Linked DNA regions of Homo sapiens: regions 2 and 3 are each linked to region 1. Evidence: promoter capture Hi-C in human tissues and cell types (Jung and others, 2019). All regions are on one chromosome and are shown on one strand. Each heading gives the region's core, a stretch centred on a gene start or on the middle of the fragment in contact. The rest is flanking DNA. Distances are from core to core; before and after follow the strand shown. Region 1 holds the start of ZNF618 (zinc finger protein 618). Region 2 has its middle 180 kb from the start of ZNF618. Region 3 has its middle 150 kb from the start of ZNF618.

Evidence for each region. Contacts are between HindIII fragments. The study calls those that stand out against the background at their distance.
Region 2: a fragment that was not itself captured here is called in contact with the fragment with the promoter of ZNF618 in region 1 in 1 of the 25 tissues and cell types used here (lymphoblastoid cells).
Region 3: a contact is called between a fragment that was not itself captured here and the fragment with the promoter of ZNF618 in region 1, in 1 of the 25 tissues and cell types used here (aorta).

Annotation. Positions count from the first base shown.
Region 1 is chr9:113,874,958-113,877,624 of GRCh38, forward strand. It overlaps ZNF618 (zinc finger protein 618), which reads left to right and starts at 1,352. Exons shown (of 15, transcript NM_001318042.2): 1 at 1,352-1,456. The coding sequence starts at 1,424. The HindIII fragment of the contact is 30,531 bases long and covers 1-2,667 here.
Region 2 is chr9:113,696,703-113,699,369 of GRCh38, forward strand. No RefSeq gene overlaps it. Among named protein-coding and RNA genes, the nearest start is that of ZNF618, 180 kb to the right of the region's middle. The HindIII fragment of the contact is 4,478 bases long and covers 1-2,667 here.
Region 3 is chr9:113,729,818-113,732,484 of GRCh38, forward strand. No RefSeq gene overlaps it. Among named protein-coding and RNA genes, the nearest start is that of ZNF618, 150 kb to the right of the region's middle. The HindIII fragment of the contact is 3,375 bases long and covers 1-2,667 here.

The sequences.
Region 1 (2,667 bases), core at 102-2,601:
TTTTGAAAAGTACCCTTGCAGTTTTCTTTTGGGGAGGGGCAAAGAAGGATTTCTGTTCACCTTGCATCTCATAGAAGAGCAATTCTTAACATTTTTATTCCAAAAATCAACCAGTTGTGGGAGATGTAGGATGGATCCAGTAATCCCTCCTTGTCTCTATAATAGGGCAGGTCCTTCATACTTTCAATTTTTAAAAAATCGGATTTTTTAGGAGAATAGGGAAGAGAATAGAAAAAAAAATCCCTTTTAAACTTTCCCAAGTCACAAGGAGGCAGTTGCTCAAGTTAAAAAAAAAAAAACAACAATAACAACAACAAAAAAACTGGCTATTTTGGGGTGTTGGAAAGAAATATCCTGGTTCACGTTTTATTTCACATGCAAGTTTCTCAAATTTTCCTTCTCTAAATCAACCTAACTGGGGGATATGGGGGTGGGGGGCGCTAATATCCCTTAACCTTTAACCCCTCTTGTCTTACTGTAGGACCAGTTTTTCAAACTTTTATTTAGAAATACATATATATATTTTAATTTGGCAAGGATAGGCAGAAACAGCCGCTTCACTGGCATTTCACATAAAAGCGGCTCCTCAAGTATTTATTTTAAAAATCAGTCTGGCTGGGGGGCTAGAGTCCCCTTAACCACTCTTGTCGGACATGGGGCCAGTCCTTCAAACTTTTATTTTATTACATTAGTTTTTTTGGGAGGAGTGGCAGGGCAATAGAATATTCCCAATAAGCCTTCCAGTCTTCCAGCAAGCCAGCTCTTGAAAACTTTTATTTCAAAAATCAATCTGGTTTTTTTTTGGCGGGGGGGTACAGCGGGGTACAGAGTTCCCATTAACCTCTTGCGTTCCGCCGAGAGCCGGCTCCCTGAACTTTTTTTCCAGCGTGAAAATGACATTTCCGAGGGGCTGGGGGACTGGGGGAGGGCAGAAGGGAGCCGGGGAGCGGGCGCGGGGGGCGCGGGGAGGGCAGGGCGCGGCGCGGGAAAGTTTGGGGGGGCGGGTGTGCCGCGGCACTGGGGCTGGCGGACGGGAGGGCGGGCGCGCCCCTGGACCGGCCGGCTTTGTGTGCCACGCGGAGGCCGGCAGCGCGGAGGCCGAGGCCGAGGCCCCGAGCTCGCGGGCCGCACGGCGAGGCCGGCCCGGGGGCGGGCAGGGCGGCGGGGGGCGGCGGCGGCCCCGCGAGGGGCGGCTCGGCGGCAGCGGCTGCCGCGGCGCGGCCGGTGCGGGCCGGGGGTGGGGGCGAGGGCCGGCGCCCCCCCCGCGCGCCCCCAGCGCCCCCGCCCCCCCGGCCTGAGCGGGGCGGGCGGAGGAGGGAGCGGCGGCGGCGGCGGCGGCGGCGGCGGCGGCATTGTGCGCGCACCAGCAGCCCGGCCCGGGAGGAGCAGGACGCGCCGGGGCCGCCTCCTCCCGCACGGACCCATGAACCAGCCGGGCGGCGCGGCGGCTCCGCAGGTACGACGGGGGGCCGGGGGCATGCACCGCGCGGGGGACCCCGGGGGGCCGGGGCCCGGGGCGCTGCGCCACTTCATTGCAAGATTTGCAAAATGCAAAGTGCCTGGGCACGTTTGCGGGCTTTTTGTGGGCGCAATCGGGAGGGTCGGGGTCCGGAGAGCACCCCCCCGGGCGCTGCGGGGTGCGAGGAGGGTGGGGGTGACGAGGGGGTCTTTTGGGGCCCCCACCCAGCGCCCCCTCCGGCCCCGGGCTCGGACCGGAGCCCAGAAAACAAAGCGGCGAGAGAACAGAGCAGCCATTTCAGTTTGGACAATTCACATTTTGCAAAAATGCAACCCCTTCCAGCTCTGCCCCCTCCCCCCCAAATTTGCAATTTTCCCCTGACCCTCTCTGCGCTCGGGGTCCCCGATGACCCCCCGGGAGGTCTTTCCCCCCAGGTCCCCCATTTTTGCAACAATCTTTTTTTTTAGGCCATATTTTCCTTTCTCAATTTTTTTTTTCTAATTTTTCTTCAAACGGTAGTTTTTTCCCATTAAAACGACGCCACCTAGAGGATACTATTTTGTAAATAAAAAAGAAATTAAAATTGAAAAGAAATATTTTTTATTTCTTATTTTTTCAAAAGTTTGCACTACCAGGCAGTGGAGGGGTAAGAGATTCTTTTTTTTTCTTTTTTCGGGTGAAAATTTTCACTTTGATCTTTCCAGAAGCATGGAGACAATTTTTATTTCTGAAGCCAAATCCAGATAATATGTAAATGAAAATTAAGCTGGAATTTGAATGAATTTAGTTCTTGGAGGGGAGAAAGCAAAAAACCTCCTAAAAGCAAAGTCAGTTTGGGTACCCAACTCATTTTAGTTTGAGAAAAAAACTAATTGGAATAAAGAAAGGAGGGAAATTGTTGAGTTTAGGGAAAACTGAGAGAATTGGCTTTATGAAGCAATTAGAAATTGTACTTCATTGTAATTTGGAACTTGTTTAGCTCAGCGGGCAAAAAAAGACTAATTTCTCTATATGGCAATATTTAAAGTTTTTCTATTTCCACGAACGAAGGATTTAAAAGAGAAAATAGAACCTAAAATGTTGGCTTTGGACACACCCAAAAATTGTAGTTTTTTTTTTTTAATTTTGCATTTACATTTTACTGCATTTAAATCCTAAGATTCTAAAGAAAACAGAAACTAGAAAAGTTACAGTGAAATCCTTTCTTT
Region 2 (2,667 bases), core at 96-2,595, 180 kb before region 1:
TACTTGGGAGGCTGAAATAGGAGAATTGCTTGAACCTGGGAGGTGAAGGTTGCAGTGAGCCGAGATCATGCCACTGCACTCCAGTCTGGGTGACAGAGTGAGACTCCATCAAAAAGAAAAAAAAGAAAAAAGAAAAGTCTATAGCACCTCCCCCTTCTCTCTATTTCTCCTTCTCTGGCCATGTAAGACGTGCCTGCTTCCCTTTCACCTTCTGCCATGATTGTAAGTTTCCTGAGGCTTCCCCAGCCATGTTCCTGTATAGCATGTGGAACTGTGAGTCAATTAAATCTGTTTTGTTTATTTCTCTTTTTTTTTTTTCTGAGACAGAGCCTAGCTCTGTTGCCCATGCTTGAGTGCAGTGGCATGATCTCAATTCACTGCAGCCTCTGCCTCCTGGGTTCAAACGATTCTCATGCCTCAGCCTCTCGAGTAGCTGGGATTACAGGCATGTGTTACCATGCCCAGCTAAGTTTTGTATTTTTTGTAGAGCTGGGGTTTCTACATGAATGTTGGCCAGGCTGGCCTCAAACTCCTGGCCTCAAGTGATCTGCCCACCTCTGTCTCCCAAAATGCTGGGATTATAGGTGTGAGCCACTGCGCCCAGCCTTTAAACCTCTTTTCTTGATAAATTACCCAGTCTCAGGTAATTCTTTATAGCAGTGAGAGAACAGTTCCCTTAGAGTTTGTGTCTTTAGGAAACCTCCTGGCTGGCCTGCCTTTTAATCAGGCTCAGGCTGCAGAGTGGTGTTAGCGGGAACAGAGCTAGATGTTGGGGCTTAAGGTAGGTCCACACCTTACTGATGTGATTGTTTCTTTTCTGTGTCCTTCCCCTCCTCAGACACCTCTGGCAGCTGCCTACTGCCTGCAGAATAAAGTCCTAGTCCCTTAACTTTCCAGGCCCTTCTAACCTGGTATCAGCATAACATCAATCTCCTACTTATCCTCTTGAGCGCCTGGAGGTTAAAGACCTGCTGCCCTACTTGCCTCGATGTTCTCTGCTCACTCTGGAGCCGTTCCCAGCCCTGTTGAGCCCATTCTCCTCACCTGGACCACTGTGGTGTCCTGCCTCCTGGAACCTGCACTGCTTGCCTGAGGGCTTTCTGAGCTTGCCAGGGCCCGTGTTGCCCACCAGGCTTGAGAAAATGAGCACGTCTCCCTACCACCACCATAGTCCTCAATCAATAACTGAGGAGGGTTGATGGTAAATACCGCAGTTCCTTCGCCCTTTCATGAGACAAATCTGAGGCTGTGCACCACACTGGCTCCAGAGTTCTCCAGGGAGATTGATATGGTTTGGCTCTGTGTCCCTACCCAAATCTCATCTCAGATTGTAACCCCCACATGTCAGGGGAGGGACCAGGTGGGAGGTGATTCCATCATGGGGGCTGTTTCCCCCATGCTGTTCTCATGAAAGTGTGTGAATTCTCATGAGAGCTGATGGTTTTAGGGTATGGCACATCCTCATTCTCACACACACTCCCTCCTGCAGCCTTGCTAATAAGGTGCCTGCTCTCCCCTTCACCTTCCACCACGATTGTAAGTTTCCTGAGGCCTCCTAGCCATGCTTCCTGCTAAGCCTGCAGAACTGTGAGTCAATTAAATCCCTTTCCTTTATAATTACCCAGTCTCAGGTAGTTCTTTATAGCAGTGTGAGAACAGACTAATAAAGAGATGAAGGCACCAACAGCACTAGTGGGCTTGGGAACACACTCTTCTCTCTCACTTCCCCACTTCTTAAGGTGTCTCTTCGCCTCCCAAATAAATGACTTGCCTGCAAATCCTTACCTCAGGGGGTGCTTCTAGGGGAACCCAAACCAAGACAGGTCTGTCCTGGAACATTTTCTCTTAGCCAACTCCACATAACAAACCCTCAAAGCCCAACTTCAGTGGGAACCCCATCTGAGGATGTGGGGAATAATACTAGCGAAGACTCAGCACCACATACCATTCTAAGCATTTCACCTGTACTAACTCACCCAAGTCTCACAGATTAGAGGGACCCTCCTCAGAGAGTCCTATGATTACCATCATGGTACAGATGAGGAAACCGAGGAAACTGAGGCATAGAAGGACTAAGCACTTTGTTTTAGGCCTGACAGGTAGAAAGTAATGGAGTTGAGTTGGACATGGTGGCTCATGCCTCTAATCCCAGCACTTTGGGAGGCCGAGGCGGGCGGATCACCTGAGGTCAGGAGCTTGAGAACAGCCTGGCCAACATGGTGAAATCCCGTCTCTACTAAAAATACAAAAAATTAGCCAGGCGTGGTAGCACACACCTGTAGTCCCAGCTACTCAGGAGGCTGAGGCAGGAGAATCGCTTGAACCTGGGAGGCGGAGGTTGAAGTAAGCCGAGATCCCACCACTGCACTCCAACCCAGGCAACAGAGCAAGACTCTGTCTCAAAAAAAAAAAAAAAAAAAAAAAAAAGAAAGGACTGCAGTTGGAACATGGTAGAGGTAACAGCTGAGTTTATGAAGACAAGACCTCAGTGTGCGTGCAGAGTGGCTGATGCTGATGCCTGCCTACATGCCATGCCTGGTTGCGTGGGTCACTTCTCCCTTTGTCATTTTGGACCGACTCTATCTAATGGAGCATAAGGGCCTAGTCTGGTGCCCACTGTGCCTTAGGGCTCAGGAGCTTTCATCAGGTGACAGCCCCTAACCAAGT
Region 3 (2,667 bases), core at 59-2,558, 150 kb before region 1:
TTTTTGTTGTTGAGATATAAATCACATACCATAAAATTCACCTCTTTAAAGTATATAATTAACTGGTTTTTAATAAACTCACAAGACTGTGCAACTATTACCACTATCTAATTAAAAACACTTTGATCACCTCCCAAAGAAACCTCATATTCATTAGTAGTCACTCCCTATGTCCCCCTCCGCCTTATCCCTAGAAACCACTTATCTACTTTTTATCTCCAAGATTTGCCTATTCTGAACATTTCATGTAAGCAGAATCATATGATATGTGGTCTTTTGTCTCTGGGTTTTTCCACCTAGCACAATGTTTCATCTTATAGTTCACCTAACATAATGTTTCATCTTACAGGATGAATCAGTTACTTCATCCTTTTTAGGGCTGAATAATATTCCATTGTATGAACGGACCACATGTTATTTAACTATTCATCAATCAATTGATGGGCATTTGGGTTGTTTATACTTTTGGGATGTCATGAATGCTGCTATGAAAATTGTATACAAATTTTTGTGTGGATATATGTTTCTTCTGCCTGCTAAAATATTGCACTTAAGCCATATCTGGAAATGAAGTTTTTATTTCAGTTATTATATTTTTCTATGCCAGAATATCTAATTGGTTCCTTTTAATAATTTTCTACATTTTTACTGATATTCTCTATATGGTGAGCCATCATTCTCATACTCTCCTTTAGTTCTTTGGACATAGTTTCCTTAGCTCATTGAACATAATTTCAATAGATGATTTAAAGTCTTTGTCTATTGGTGGCTGAGGCGGGAGGATTGCTTGAGCCTAAGGAGTTCGAGACCAGCCTGAGCAACATGGCAAGACCCTGTCTCTACCAAGAAAAAAAAAAAATTAGCCAGGCATGGTGGTTTGCACTTGTGGTCCTAGCTACTCAGGAGGTTGAAGCAGAAGGATTGTTTGGGTCTGGGAGGTAGAGGCTACAGTGAATCATGTTTCTGCCATTACACTCCAGCCAGCACAACAGAGCGAGACCCTGTTTCACACACAAAAGAAGAATGAATGAATGAATAAATAAATAAATAAATAAAAATAAAGTCCTTGTCTAGTAAGACCAGTGTCTGCTGTTCCTCAGGAACAGTTTTTATTGACGGCTTTTCTTCCTGTATATGGGCCATAATTTCTTGTTTCTTTATTATTATTAATTATTTTCTCTTAAGTCCCCCTGAAAATGAAATACTTTGTTTCTTTAAATGTCTCTTAATATTTTGTGGAAAATTGGAAATTTTAAATTTGGCAACTCTGGAAATAAGATTATCCAGGATTTGTTGTTACTGTTTGTTGCTTTTGTTAATTTCTTTAGTGACTTTTCTGAACTAATTGAGTAAAGTCTGAATTCCTAGTTCTGTTTAGCCATCTAAGTCTCTTACCTTAGTGGTGAGCAAATGATTGGATAGAGATTTCCTTAAACTCTTGCAATCAGTAAATCTCCCTCTCTTTGCCAAAGGACCGTGTGTGTGTGTGTTTGTATGTGTGTGTGCATGCTTTCCAAACTCAGCCAGGCTGTTAGCAACTCTAACTCTTCACTTCTTACTTGTGCAAGATCTCAAGGTCAGCCCAAGGTGGGAGCTTAGGACCTTCTCAGGTTTTTCCTGCATATGTGCATAGCCCTAGGTATGTGTATAGCCCTATGCATGTGTGTGGCCTTCTAGAGTCCCAGGAACATGTCAAAACTTCTTAAAGCCCCTGTGGACATCTCATGCCTCAGCTTTTCCTTTTAAGCTTTTTGTTTAGCCTATTGTTTACCCCAATTATCTAACTGCCTTGGGAAGCTACAAATGTAATCAATTGCCTCTAATTGTTTATAACAAACACCCCCCAGGGAAAAGGCTTTTTGTACTGTGTGAGCTTTGAGTCAGGTCAAATAAAGACAGCTCTTTAAAGTGAGGGCTTCCAGACAACTGTTAGACACATCGAATGATGACAATTTTCTGGAAATGAAGCTTTGAAGGAACAGCAACCCTGTTAAGCCCCCATGGTGGCTGGCAGGCTGCTGATTTTTACTATGATTTTAGGCTGTTAATTTTCAAGGCTACTGTGGAGCTGGAGAGCATGAGATGGAAACAGGGCAAATTAAAATGCCACAACACTTGCTGTCTTTGCTAAGATTTAGCTGTTTTTCTTTAATAATTGCTCCCTAGATTGCTACAAGAATTTGATTAACTTCCAGACTTCTAAAAAAGTTGATTCTAAAAATTTTTTGCCAGTATTCACATGACATATTCGAAGCATTAACGCTTCCATTTTCACTGGTATCAGCTTTTCAGGTGTTTTTAAATTTTGGTGTACAAGTTCATTTTGAATGGGAGAGCTCTTTCTCCCTGCATTCCTCCCTGTCTAGCAGTTATGTGGCCATCTCCACCCTGCCCCTCGGGACCCTTAGTTCAGAGCCATGTTTTACATTAGCAGGCTGGAGCTCTAGCCCAGTGATCACACTGGGGTTACTGCAGATACTTTCATCGAGTCAGCAGCTTGATTGATGTCCTGGTGGTAAGGATCTGTCCTCCCCGTCTCCCTAAGCTTGCAGTTTCATATGGGATGTAACTGGGAGCTGTCGGCAGACATTTCTAGCTTCCTTTCAAGAGCAAAAGGTACCAGTGCTTCCCTGGTTTGGAACAGTGAGCCCGACTCAGGTGCCCCAC